4 separate regions of the Homo sapiens genome follow, and all the other regions are linked to region 1. Evidence: promoter capture Hi-C in human tissues and cell types (Jung and others, 2019). All regions are on one chromosome and are shown on one strand. The core of a region is centred on a gene start or on the middle of the fragment in contact, and the rest is flanking DNA. Distances in the headings are between cores, read along the strand shown. Region 1 holds the start of RAPSN (receptor associated protein of the synapse). Region 2 holds the start of PTPMT1 (protein tyrosine phosphatase mitochondrial 1). Region 3 overlaps CELF1 (CUGBP Elav-like family member 1). Region 4 overlaps CELF1 (CUGBP Elav-like family member 1).

Region 1 (3,275 bases), core at 1-2,500:
CATAGCGCAGGGCCTTCTCGAAGCTCTCCAGGGCCTTCTGGAAGACGCTGAGGCCCAGGAAGGCATTGCCCATGCTCAGGCTGACCTGGCCTCCGAGCTGGGCACCTGCCCTGGTACCAGGCAGCCCAAGGCAGGTCTTGCAGTAGGAGATGGTCTTGTGAAACTCGCACAGCTTCTCGTTGCTGCGTGCCAGGTTCAGGTAGCTCTCCAGGAGGAAGTCGGCATCCTCCAGCTCCCGGGCCGTGTCGATCTGGACCACAGCGAACTGCACACAGCGACGGTGGGCAGGTGGTGCTCAGCCTGGACTCTGAGCCTTGGACCCCAGCCTGCACTGCAGGCTCAGACCTGGAGGCCCCACACCCACCCCCCAGCCTCACACCCAAAGCAGCAGATCCCAAAGCTTCTTTTCAGACCCAGAGCTTCTACCCGCCAGCCTCAGCTACCTTCCCTACACCCCAGCCTCACCTCCCAAGCTCAGGCTTGCAGCCTTCACCTTCTATCCCAAGCCTCAGATCTGGAGTCTCCACCACCCACCCACCCCCAGCCGCAACCCTGGAGCCCACACCCCGCCAGGCTCAGACACAGAACACCAGACAGGAAGGCTGAAACCTACAATGGGCTTGAGACCCACAAACCCTCGACCCTGAGGCTGGAGAACCTCAGTCTCAGAGACTCGGGCACCACAGTTCAAGGCCACAGGCCTGAATCTGATGCCAAGACTCAGTATCTAAGACCCAGGGCCTTAGATATAAATTCAGAGCCTCGGGCCCTGGCTGCCAGCCTGTGGGACACAGGGGAGCCCGAGGAGGCCGAGAGGGGACTGGGGAGCCTGGGAGACATCCGGCCCCAGCCTGACCCTCGAACGCCCCCAGGCCGGGTACACCCACCTTCAGCATCTCCTTGTAGCGGCCCATCTCCGAGTGGGCTGTGACCAGGCAGCCCAGCACGCGGAAGCGCCCCATGAGGTCCGAGCTCTTCTCCAGCACCTTTGTCCACACCTGCAATGCCTTCTCTGTCTGGTTGGACTGGTACAGCTGGAGCCCCTTCTCGATCTGCTGCTTGGTCTGGTCCTGCCCCATCCTCCCCAAGCCCTGTGTCCCACGTGGGGTGATCCCTGGTGGCTCCGTGCCTCTAGGCACTCATGGGGCAGGAATCACAGTGCCAGCTGCCCCCCGAAACGTGGGAACAAAAGCAGCGTCGGGTGGGAGCCGGAATGGGGCCTGGATGGAGAGCAGGCGCCACCCTGGGAACAAAGCTGGTTCAGCCCGTCTGCAGCTGTCGCTGCCAGTTGGGGCCACATGGCCTCTGAGGAATGTCAGCAGCAAGGTCACGTGGGCCTCTGCTGCACCCACCCGCGAGCTGGGACGTGGCTTCCCTGAGCATACAGGCACCTTGCCACCTGGGCACCCCCTTGGGCGTCCCTTAGGCACCTCTGACACTGACCCTGACCGCCCTGGCAGCACGGGCCCTCCCAGCAGCCTTGCCAAGGGGCCAGCTCCAGCAAGTGGGCAGGCCTTGGGCTAGAGGTGCTCGGGGGAAGGAGAGCGAGGCTGGACCTGCAGGTCCGGGGAAGCCAGGTGAGCGCCCAGCCCTGCTTCTTCCCCATCAAGACACCCCTGACCGCAGCATCCCCTGGCTCTGTTCCTGAAATTCACTGAGCACCGTGGGTCACTCATCCAGGCCCAGGCTGACACCATTCACCAACTCTCACCTTAGAGAGTCTGGGAAAGACCTCCAGCTGGTGAGAGGCCTGAGCTCTAGCCTGGCTTCCTTCGAACTCTCAGTGGGACCCTAGCCAAGTGACCTGGCACCGTGGACTGAAGAGAGGAATGGTACCTGGCTCACTGGACTGCTATGAGAACTCAATGACGAAAGAGTTGAGAAGGACTTAGGACAGTGCCCGGCACAGGAAACCCCGCATGTGCTGCAAGAGGCTATTTTGCTCCATGGCAAATCCCCACCCGGGCCAGAACCCAGCCCTTGAAGTTTCAATGTCTCACTTCCAATCCCAACCCCGGGCTGAAAGGGTCCTCATAATGAGATTTAACACCAGATACTGTGGAGAAGGGCAAGGTCTTATGTAGTATTGGGGCCCCCGCTAGCAGGCCAGCTCATCCAGCCCCCCTTTCTCCTCTCTCTGCATGCCAGCCTTCTTCCTGCCCCAGGGCAAAAGTTTATCCTTTCTGGCTGGGCAATTCAGTGGTTTTTAGTATATTCACAGAGATGCACATTAATTGCCACTAATTCCAGAACATTTTAACCACCCCAAAAAGGAGACGCACACCCATCAGCAGTTACACCACTCCATTCCCCACCTTGATATGACTGAATCATGTCCCCCCGCAACCAAACGCATATGTTTAAGTCCTAACACTCAGTATCTCATAAGGTGACTGTCTTTGGAGACAGGGTCTTTAAAGGGTGATTAAGGTAAAATGAAGTCACATTGTACCTCATCCAGTTAAGACTGGTATCCCCCCCCCCTTTTTTTTGAGACAGGGTCTCACTCTGTCACCTAGGCTGGAGTGCAGTGGTGCAGTCACAGCTCACTGCAACCTCTACCTCCTAGGCTCAAGTGACCCTCCCACCTCAGTCTCCTGGGTAGCTGAGACCACAGCTGTCTAGTTTTTGTAGAGATGGGTTTCACCATGTTGCCCAGGCTGGTCTTGAACTCCTGGAGGTGGAGGTTTCAGTGAGCCGTGATTGTGCCACTGCACTCCAGCCTGAGCACCAGAGCAAGACCTTGTCTCAAAAAATAAATAAACAATAAATTTTTATTTTTAAAAATTATTTTTGAGACGGAGTTTTGCTCTTGTTGCATAGGCTGGAGTGCAGTGGCACAATCTCAGCTCACTGAGACTTCTACCTCCCGGGTTCAAGCAATTCTCCTGCCTCAGCCTCCCAAGTAGCTGGGATGACAGGTGTATGCCACCACGCCTGGCTAAGTTTTTGTATTTAGTAGAGACGGGGTTTCACCATGTTGGTCAGGCTGGTCTTGAACTTCTGACCTCAGTTGATCCACCTGCCTCAGAGCCTCCCGAAGTATTGGGGTTATAGGCGTGAGCCACCATGCCTGACCACAATACTTTTTTTTTTTTTTGAGACACTTTCCCTCTGTCACCCAGGCTGGAGTGTGGTGGTGCCATCTTGGCTCACTGCAACCTTCACCTCCCAGGTTCAAGTGATTCTCCTGCCTCAGCCTCCTGAGTAGCTGGGATTACAGCTGCGCACCACCACACCTGGCTAATTTTTGTATTTTTAGTAGAGACGGGGTT
Region 2 (3,275 bases), core at 345-2,844, 120 kb after region 1:
TAAAAACAAACAAACAAACAAAATCTCCACCAGATGCTTGGGCCGGGCGTGTGGCTCATGCCTGTAATCCCAACACTTTGGGAGGCTGAGGCTGGCAGATCACCATAGGTCAGGAGTTCAAGACTAGCCTGGCCAACATGGTGAAACCCCATCTCTACTAAAAATACAAAAAAAAAAAAAAAAAAAAAAAGAAAGCCGGGCGCGGTGGCTCATGCCTGTAATCCTGGCACTTTGGGAGGCCAGGGGGATGGATCACCTGAGGTCAGGAGTTTGAGACCAGCCTGGTCAACATGTTGAAGCCATCTCACTAAAAATACAAAACTTAGCTGGGCGTGGTGACATGTACCTGTAATCCCAGCTACTCGGGAGGCTGAGGCAGGAGAATTGCTTGAACCTGGGAGGCAGAGGTTGCAGTGTGCTGAGATCACGCCATTGCACTGCAGCTTGGGTGACAATAGTGAAACTCTGTCTCAAAAACAAAAAACAAAAAACAAAAACTCCACCAGATGCTTGGGCCGGGTGCAGTGGCTCATGCCTGTAATGCCAGCACTTTGGGAGGCTGAGGTGGGCGGATCACCTTAGGTTCGAGACCAGCCTGGCTGACAAGGTGAAACCTCGTCTCTACTAAAAACAAAAGTTAGCTGGGTGTGGTGGCATGCACCTGTAATCCCAGCTACTCAGGAGGCTGAGGCAGGAGAATCGTTTGAACCCGGGAGGCGGAGGTTGCAGTGAGCTGAGATCTTGCGACTGCCCTCTAGCCTGGGCAACAGAGTGAGACTCCGTCTCAAAACAAACAAACAAAAAGTAAATAGCTGGCATTACAACCATTCTTCTTACCTTTTTGTAGGTTGCAGGTTTTATATTTGAGCTCTTCATAATATTTTTCTTAAGGATATATTAATATAATGTATATTTTCCTATTTTTTCCTGCTATGTAAACACTGCTGTTTGGTCAGATGAAGGAGGGAGCCCTGCCCTAGGACAGGGGAGGGGAGGAGGAAGGCGACCTCAACCCAGGACCCCTGTTCACCCTGGGATCAGGCCCTCACCCAGGTAGCTCCTCTGTTTGAAAGCTCTAAGCCCTTCCACTGTCCTCTTCAGGGCTACCCCGCCACACAGCCTCTCCTTGTCTTGTCTTCCCTTTGGCGGGGTCACACCCGCACCTGGGTCACTGCCCCCTTCCTCTGGTCGAGGGTTGGGGGGAGTGTCCCCTCCTCCCTCGGCCGGAGTCACAGTTCCACACGCAGGGGTCCTTCCTGCCCCTCTCACCTGGGGTCACAACCCCCCTCCCTCGGAGGAGGGAGGTCACCGGCCACAGGCGGGGGCCTCAGTTTCCCACGCTACAGGGCTCACACGTGTCTGGCCTGCGACGCGCTCTCCCTTCGCCGGGGTCCCAGTTTCCCGCCCAGGAAACCTCGGTCCCTCCTCCGAGGCCGCCGGGCCCTCCTCCAGAGTCCCGCCAGTCCCCCAGAGTCCAGGCCAGTCCCCGCCGTCACCCGGTGCGAGCCCGCGAGAGGCCTAGTGCAGCTGGCAGCCCCGCCCCGGCACCCGCCTGCTCTTCTCGCGGGTCCGGACCGCGAGCGCGGGGGCCGACGGGTCGCCGCTGCGCCGGGCCGGGATGGCGGCCACCGCGCTGCTGGAGGCCGGCCTGGCGCGGGTGCTCTTCTACCCGACGCTGCTCTACACCCTGTTCCGCGGGAAGGTGCCGGGTCGGGCGCACCGGGACTGGTACCACCGCATCGACCCCACCGTGCTGCTGGGCGCGCTGCCGTTGCGGAGCTTGACGCGCCAGGTGAGCCGGGCCGGGGAGCCCGGGCCCCTGCCCCGTCCCCGCCGCTCCGTCCCTGTCGGGCCGCTGGGGTCTCCACCGTCTTTGCTGAGCCACCTCTTTGCCTCGGCAGCTGGTACAGGACGAGAACGTGCGCGGGGTGATCACCATGAACGAGGAGTACGAGACGAGGTTCCTGTGCAACTCTTCACAGGTGAGGGACCGGGCCGAGGGGCAGGCTCGGGGGCCCGCTCCCCCTCGCCCACCGCCCTGAGCCTGGGACGGCTAGAGAAGTGTGGGGGAGGTCACCATGCACCGGAGCCAGGTGTCTCAAGCTGCTTTGCCTCCGGTCTGTGCCTCTAAATGGCACCTGGAGGTAGGCTAGAAGCTGTGAAAGGCGTTTATTTAAAAGTTCAAGTTGGGCCGGGCGCGGGGACTCACGCCTGTAATCCCAGCACTTTGGGAGGCGGGAGGAGGAGGCGGGCAGATCACTTGAGCCCAGGAGTTCCTGACCAGCCTGGGCAACATGGCGAGGCCCCCGTCCCTACAAAAATACAAAAAGTAGCCGGGAGTGGTGGCGTGCGCCTGTACTCCCAGCTACTTGGGAGGCTAAGGCAGGAGAATCACTTTAGCCCGGGAGGTGGAGGTTGCAGTGAGCCGACATCTCGCCATTGCATTCCAGCCCAGCCTTGGGCGACAGGAGTGAAACAATGTCTCAAAAAAAAAAAAAAAAAAAGTGGAAGTTGACAAAGCCTGATTTCTCCTTTGTGAACAAATGTAATGTATTCTTATTTCGGTAACCAAAATCAGAAACTAAAATTGAAAGGCAACTTTCCCATGCCTTCCTGATTTCATTCATTCTTTCTATACTTTGAGCTCTGAGTATGGGTCAGCATTCCCAGTGTTAGGGATTCCAGATGAAGGCCCTGCCAACTGTAAGACGAAAAGCACCCCCTTAACACTCTCCCCTCCCCAGATTTTTCATAAAACTATCCATTGAAAACTGTAGAGTTCATTTGGCTCTGATTTGGGGGAATTTTTAGTCATATATTAGAAATCATGGTGGAACTCCAAAGTTCTCTCATAACAAAGTTTAGGCCTAAAACATAACTTTCATTAAATGTGACTGGCCTGTTTGTGGAATCTTCCACAATGGTTATTAGAAGATGTTATCTACAATCTGAGCTATTTGATTTTTTTTTAATGTTGCCCTATCTTTATAGCGTTTGGCATCTAATAGCACTAAACAATTATCTTTCTCATTTGTTTTACTGATATAGCATGATGAAGATACTATTATTTCAACCTGAGGATTTTTTTGAAACCTTGAAAATATTTGTGACTTGGCCAGGCGTGGTGGCTCTCACACCTGTAATCCCAGCACTTTGGGAGGCTGAGGTGGGTGGATCACCTGAGGTCAGGAGTTTGAGATCAGCCTGGCCAAAATGGTGAAACCCCGTCTGTACTAAAATCACACAAAAAAATTAGCCGGGCGTGGTGGCAGGCG
Region 3 (3,275 bases), core at 574-3,073, 87 kb after region 1:
GCGCCTGCCACCATGCCCGGCTAATATTTTGTATTTCTAGTAGAGATGGGGTTTCACCACATTGGCCAGGCTGGTCTCGAACTCCTGACCTCAGGTGATCCACCCGCCTTGGCCTCCCAAAGTGCTGGGATTACAGGCATGAGCCACGGCGCCTGGCCATATTTAGTATTTTTTCTATCAAGATTTCAATGTTTTCCAAAGTTCAAGAAATCTCAGCTTCTCTACACAATTATGTTAGAAATATATCAGACACAAAATTATAAAAATAAAGCTGGCCGGGCGCCATGGCTCATGCCTGTAATCCCAGCACTCTGGGAGGCCAAGGCAGACAGATCACAAGGTAAGGAGACCGAGACCATCCTGGCTAACATGGTGAAACCCTGTCTCTACTAAAAACATACAAAAAATTAGCCGGGCGTGGTGGTGGGCAACTGTAGTCCCAGCTACTCGGGAGGCTGAGGCAGGAGAATGGTGTGAACCCAGGAGGTGGAGCTTGCAGTATGCAGAGATCGCACCACTGCACTCCAGCCTAGGCGACAGAGCGAGACTCCATCTCAAAAATAAATAAAATAAAATAAAATAAGCCAAGAGAAGTATAAGTTCAATCTCCAAGTATGCCTCCAAAACTGTAGTGTGTAGATAAATGTGATGTTAAATTACGTTTAGGGAGATGAACTGCCACTCCCAGCTAAATGTGTGTTGTCACTCAGTTCCCTGGAGACCCATTCTGTTAGAAGATATCTTAAGAAAACAGATCATTTACAAGTCTGATCTGTGGATCTGTTTTTTTCAGAAGTGGAACAGTCAGAATTAGAAAAAAAAAAATTTTTTTCCCTAAGTTGGAAGCTTTCTGGAAAAGGGTTAAGTCTTTCCATAGATCTAGCTTAGCCCCAGAGCAAACTTATACCAGACAAATGAACATTAACAAAAACAGCACTTGATTTCACAGTAATAATCTAGAACTTCAGCTACCCTACGCCTGATCCATAATAGTTTGAGCCAGAAAAGTACCTGGCACAAATTTCAAGAGTATCCCTCACACTAATAACTACTGAAACCTAAATATAAATTCCATTTAAATGTGTTGAAAACCAAACTCAGAACCAATTCATACAACAAATTCACAAACCAAAAGAAAAAAAAAATGGTTCTATGGAGATAAGATATACCATTAACTACCGTAGGCAATAGTTATTAAGATACTCCACAAACATATTATGTCTTGGGCTGGGCGAGATGGCTCACACCTGTAATCCCAGCACTTTGGGAGGCCGAGGCAGGCGGATCAGTTGAGTTCAGGAGTTCGAGACCAGCCTGACCAACATGGAGAAACTCCGTCTCTACTAAAAATAGAAAATTAGCCGGGCATGGTGGGGCATGCCTGTAATCCCAGCTACTCAGGAGGCTGAGGCAGGAGAATCGCTTGAACCCGGGGAGGTGGAGGTTGCAGTGAGCCAAGGTTGCACCACTGCACTCCAGCCTGGGCAACAAGAGCGAAACCCCATCTCAAAAAAAAAAAAAAAATAAATCATGTCTTGTTTTGCTATATTTACTCACCTAAGCTTTCCTGTAGCATGCCCACAAGTTTTTTTGTTTTTGTTTTTTTCTTGAGATAGGGTCTTGCTCTGTCGCCCAGGCTGAAGTGCAGTGGTGCAATCTCGGCTCACTGCAATCTCCACCTCCTGGGTTCAAGCGAGCCTCCTGCCTCAGCCTCCCAAGTAGCTGGGATTACAGGCGTGTGCCACCGTGCCCAGCTAATTTTTTCTGTTTTTAGTACAGACAGGGTTTCACTGTGTTAGCCAGGATGGTCTTGATCTCCTGACCTTGTGATCCGCCCGCCTCAGCCTCCCAAGGTGCTGGGATTATAGGCATGAGCCACTGCACCCAGCCCAAGAGTTTGTTTTTAAATAGTTTCTGGCCAGCATGGTGGCTCAAGCCTGCAATCCCAGCACTTTGGGAGGCTGAGGCAGGTGAATCACTTGAGGCCAAGAGTTTGAGACCAGCCTAGCCAACATGGCAAAATCTCATCTCTACTAAAAATAGAAAAATTAGCTGGGCATGGTGCCAACGGCCTGTAGTAGCTCTTCTGGAGACTGAGGCACGAGAATTACTTGAACCCGGGAGGCGGAGGTTGCAGTGAGCCAACATTGCACCACTGTACTCCATCGTGGGCGACAAGGCGAGATTGTCATAAATAAATAGATAGATAGATAGACAGACTGATAGATAGTTTCCCAATGCTATCTATAACCCAAATTAGCTCAGTAAAGAGGTTTGCAAAGCTTTTTAAAAAACTGCATTTGTAGGCCGGGTGTGGTGGCTCATGCCTGTAATCTCAGCACTTTGGGAGGCCAAGGTGAGCAGATTACCTGAGGTCAGGTGGAGTTGGAGGTCAGCCTAGCCAACATGGCGAAAACCCGTCACTACTAAAAAAAATACAAAAATTACCTGGGCGTGGTGGTGCACACCTGTAATCCCAGCTACTCAGAAGGCTGAGGCAGTTACTTGAACCTGGGAAGCGGGGGCTGCAGAGCTGAGAACACACCACTGCACTCCAGCCTGCGTGACAGAGTGAGACTCCATTTCAAAAAATAATAATAAAAAATAAAAATTGCACTTGTAAATGTATGCAGAGACTATTAAACAGAAATAGCACGCAATAAAAACAATGAATATATAATAAACATAATGTCTTTCCATAATTATTTCCCATCAGCTTGAAAGGGGAAGTAGGAAGGACAAGTCCACAGTATAGTTTTGGCACATGAGTTTAATATCAAACAGCCTAGAAACAAAAAGGAGAAAACAGGACATGACAGGAGGCAAACTCTTGGATGCTTTATTCATTTTTACTAGTGGTTTACTATTTCCTTGATTTTATTTGGAAAAGCATGTCTTGGCCCAGAAAGGCAAGAGTGCAGACTGCCAGCAATATCAGATTATCCTTTTCTTATTCTTTGGAGCTACTGAAAACTGAGCCAAAATCAGAGTTGTCTAGGAGCCTTCTGACTGTTCAGGCAATAAAAATTACGAAGTTTCAAGATCAGAGCTCCACAAGGTTTTTACCATACAAATTTTTTTTTTTTTTTTTTTTGGGACAGAGTCTCACTCTGTCGCCCAGGCTAGAGTGCAGTGGCGCCATCTTGGCTCACTGCAGCCTCCACCTCCTGGATTCAAGCAATTCTCCTGCCTCAGCCTCCTGAGTAGCTGAGACTATAGGCACACACCACCACATTCAACAAATTTCTGTTATTTTTAGTAGAGACGGGGTTTCA
Region 4 (3,275 bases), core at 361-2,860, 69 kb after region 1:
TCAGTGTCCCCAAGTGCTGGGATTACAGACATGAGCCACCACGCCCAGCTCACTAGTATTTTTCAATGGATAATATCACTTGCAAAATATAAAAAGGGATAGTATCTCATCAATATTGAAAACTGAGCTGAGCACAGTGGCTCACACTTATAATCTCAGCACTTTGGGAGGACTGCTTGAGCCCACAAGTTCCAGACCAGCCCAGGCAATATAGTGAGACTTATCTCTACAAAAAAATTCAAAAATTAGCTGGGTGTGGTGGCACGTGCCTGTAGTCCCAGTTACTTGGGAAGCTGAGGCGGGAGAATCACTTGAGCCCAGGAGGTCGGGCTGCAGTGAACTGTGATCATGCCACTGCACTCCAGCCTGGACAACTGAGAGAGAGCCTGTCTAAAAAAACAAACAGAGAAAAAAAAAAAAAAAAAAAGACATGCCCTTTGAATTCAGCAATCCCAGTTCTAGAAATATAGTTTACAAATAATCTTGTATCTGATGTATACAAAGTATGCAAAGGGGCATTCATAAGAACATTGTTTACATCAGCAAAACCTGAAAACATATGCCCATTAATTGAAGGCTATTAAATACAGTATAACCATACAACAGAACACTATGTAGCTATTAAAGAAAATAAGGCAGCTAACTGATCAAGACGTATTCATATAATAAGAAAGGAATTACACATGGCTTGTATATGAACAGAGTATCTCTGGATGGATAAAGAAATAACTGCTAACAGTAGTTGTAGAGGTGGAACAGTGGTTGAATTGTTTACATGTGAACACGTTACCTATTCTACAGAAATTTTTTTTTTTTTGAGACGAAGTTATGCTCTTGTTGCCCAGGCTAGAGTACAATGGCGCAATATTGGCTCACTGCAACCTCCGCCTCCCGGGTTCAAGCAATTCTACTGCCTCAGCCTCCCGAGCAGCTGGGATTACAGGCACCTGCCACCAAACCCAGCTACTTTTTTGTATTTTTAGTAGAGATGGGGTTTCACCATGTTGGCCAAGCTGGTCTCGAACTCCTGACCTTAGGTGATCGACCTGAAGTGCTAGGATTACAGGCACGAGCCACTGTGCCCGGCCTACTGAAAATTTTTTTAAAGAAAACTTGAGCTTTTGGAGCATGGCAACCTAGCCTGCAGACACCGTATCCCCTTGTCCACTTCCCCCTGCAACCCATAAGTCCATTCCTACCACTTAAAAAAAGGAAAACTCGTGGAACTATAAAGCACAAAGTAAAGAAAAACCTCAACTCATACTCTTTTCCAAAACAGCATTTTGGTTTTGTATTTTTTTCCTGCTTTGCCTGAAACTTCTGTGTGGAAACTGCCATTGTCCAGGTGATCCAGCAGTATATCATAATTACATCACACCATTTTAAATGACCCCAGCAACTCAAATAACGTTCATGCAGCTGGGACCTCATCATGTATGGCCTATTTACAAAGTCTGAAGCTATTTCAATCACTCAGCTGTATAGCTATACATTTTCTTCAATCAACCTTTCCTGCCAAGGCAAAGTGCAACATTAGCTGGATTCCAGTAAAGAAGGCAAGGGACAGGGTGAGATAATATGTCAAAACAAGTTCTATAAATACAGCTTTTGGCTTGTATCTCAAAAAGGAATCAAAAGAGCTTCAAGTTTAAACAGAAAAACCCTACAGTCCCTGCAGTATCTTACTTGAAGGCTCTAGAGAACAGAAGACACCAGGGAACTGGAATCTTATTTCTCACACTGTAATATCTTGTCTCTCTCTCCCTTATCTCAGGGGCAGGTTTAGATGCAATTGCAAGCTTTATCATTCCAACTCTGCATCTCCCCTGCCTCTTTTCTTATCTTACCACCTCTACCCTACCAAACACATCAATTTCCTTCCTCTCTGTGAGGCTGCTCCACCTCTTAGGCAGACAGGCCCAATACACACAACATACAACAGTCTTTCCTTAGCACTAGCCACCTAACTTCTATCATCTCCAAAATCCTTGACCAAGCAGCCAAGAACCCTGCCTTTACCATCTGCCCCAACCTCACCATCAAACACACGGGCACTCATGCGGGATGCTTCCATATGGTCTTGTTTCAGGAGCTTTGCCCTGTTCTGTTGAAAAGCAGGAAACTTTATTTTCTTTCTGTTCTTAAATTCTTAATTCTATAAAACTAGAGAAACCAGAAACTACTTCTGTAGAGACACTTCCTGAGACAGTTAGGTTATAGGCCAGAAAATGCAAATTTTGTACCTCTGCTTCAGCCAATCAGGGAACATGTTCAGCAAAGCTTGATTCACCCTAAAGGACGCACAGCCCTAAGACAAATTCTATTCTATTCTATTATCACTTTTTAAAAAAAGTTACTTTGGCTGGCCTGTAATCCCAGCATTTTGGGAGGCCGAGGCAGGTGGATCACTTGAGGTCAGAGTTCGAGACCAGCCTGGCCAACGGGGTGAAACCCCATCTCTACTACAAATACAAACAAATTAGCCCGGCGTGGAGGCGGGAACCTGTAATCCCAGTTACTTGGGAGGCTGGGGCAGAAGAATCACTTGAACAGGGAGGCACAGGTTGCAGTGAGCTGAGATCACACCACTGCACTCCAGCCTGTGTGACAGAGCGAGACTCCATCTCTAAATAAATAAATAAATAAATAAATAAATAAATAAATAAATAAATAAGGTACTTCAATTATCATGCTTTCATCACTCTGCAATTGTGCTCCTAAAGGTGCTTCTCGCCGGGCGTGGTGGCTCACGCCTATAATCCCAGCACTTGCACTTTGGGAGGCCAAGGCGGGTGGATCACAAGGTCAGGAGATCGAGACCATCCTGGCTAACACGGTGAAACCCCTACTGAAAATAAAAATTAGCTGGGCGTGGTCGTGGGCGCCTGTAGTCCCCGCTACTCGGGAGGCTGAGGCAGGAGAATGGCATGAACCCAGGAGGCGCAGCTTTTAGTGAGCTGAGATCGTGCCACTGCATTCCAGCCTGGGCGACGGAGCCAGACTCCGTCTCAAAAAAAAAAAAAAGGAGTGCTTCTCACATTTAAATACCCACTTAAATCATCTGTCACATCCTTCAAATCACTCCTAAAAAAACTCAACTGTTCCACAAAATTTAACTTGTCAGTGCTTTGATTTCATTTTTACAAAAACAAGCTCTTAAAAAAAAAAGCCAGGAGATCTATCAATCAAAAAAGCAACTACATTTTTAGAAAACATCTACTATATACCCAGAACTAAAGAGGATACCAAAAAAAAAGGCACAATCCCTGTCCTTA

The links. Contacts are between HindIII fragments. The study calls those that stand out against the background at their distance.
Region 2: the fragment with the promoter of PTPMT1 here is called in contact with the fragment with the promoter of RAPSN in region 1 in 1 of the 25 tissues and cell types used here (mesenchymal stem cells).
Region 3: a contact is called between a fragment that was not itself captured here and the fragment with the promoter of RAPSN in region 1, in 2 of the 25 tissues and cell types used here (dorsolateral prefrontal cortex and mesenchymal stem cells).
Region 4: a fragment that was not itself captured here is called in contact with the fragment with the promoter of RAPSN in region 1 in 2 of the 25 tissues and cell types used here (bladder and liver).

What each region holds. Positions count from the first base shown.
Region 1 is chr11:47,447,886-47,451,160 of GRCh38, forward strand. It overlaps RAPSN (receptor associated protein of the synapse), which reads right to left and starts at 1,251. Exons shown (of 8, transcript NM_005055.5): 1 at 888-1,251; 2 at 1-265. The coding sequence starts at 1,079. The HindIII fragment of the contact is 7,804 bases long and covers 1-3,275 here.
Region 2 is chr11:47,564,005-47,567,279 of GRCh38, forward strand. It overlaps PTPMT1 (protein tyrosine phosphatase mitochondrial 1), which reads left to right and starts at 1,595. Exons shown (of 4, transcript NM_175732.3): 1 at 1,595-1,792; 2 at 1,902-1,982. The coding sequence starts at 1,619. It also overlaps a transcript of CELF1 not described here. RefSeq lists enhancers at 1,106-1,606, 1,607-2,107 and silencers at 1,417-1,896, 2,027-2,106. The HindIII fragment of the contact is 19,699 bases long and covers 1-3,275 here.
Region 3 is chr11:47,534,172-47,537,446 of GRCh38, forward strand. All of the region lies in intron 1 of CELF1 (CUGBP Elav-like family member 1), which reads right to left. Among named protein-coding and RNA genes, the nearest start is that of CELF1, 17 kb to the right of the region's middle. The HindIII fragment of the contact is 4,129 bases long and covers 1-3,275 here.
Region 4 is chr11:47,516,853-47,520,127 of GRCh38, forward strand. All of the region lies in intron 1 of CELF1 (CUGBP Elav-like family member 1), which reads right to left. Among named protein-coding and RNA genes, the nearest start is that of CELF1, 35 kb to the right of the region's middle. The HindIII fragment of the contact is 3,912 bases long and covers 1-3,275 here.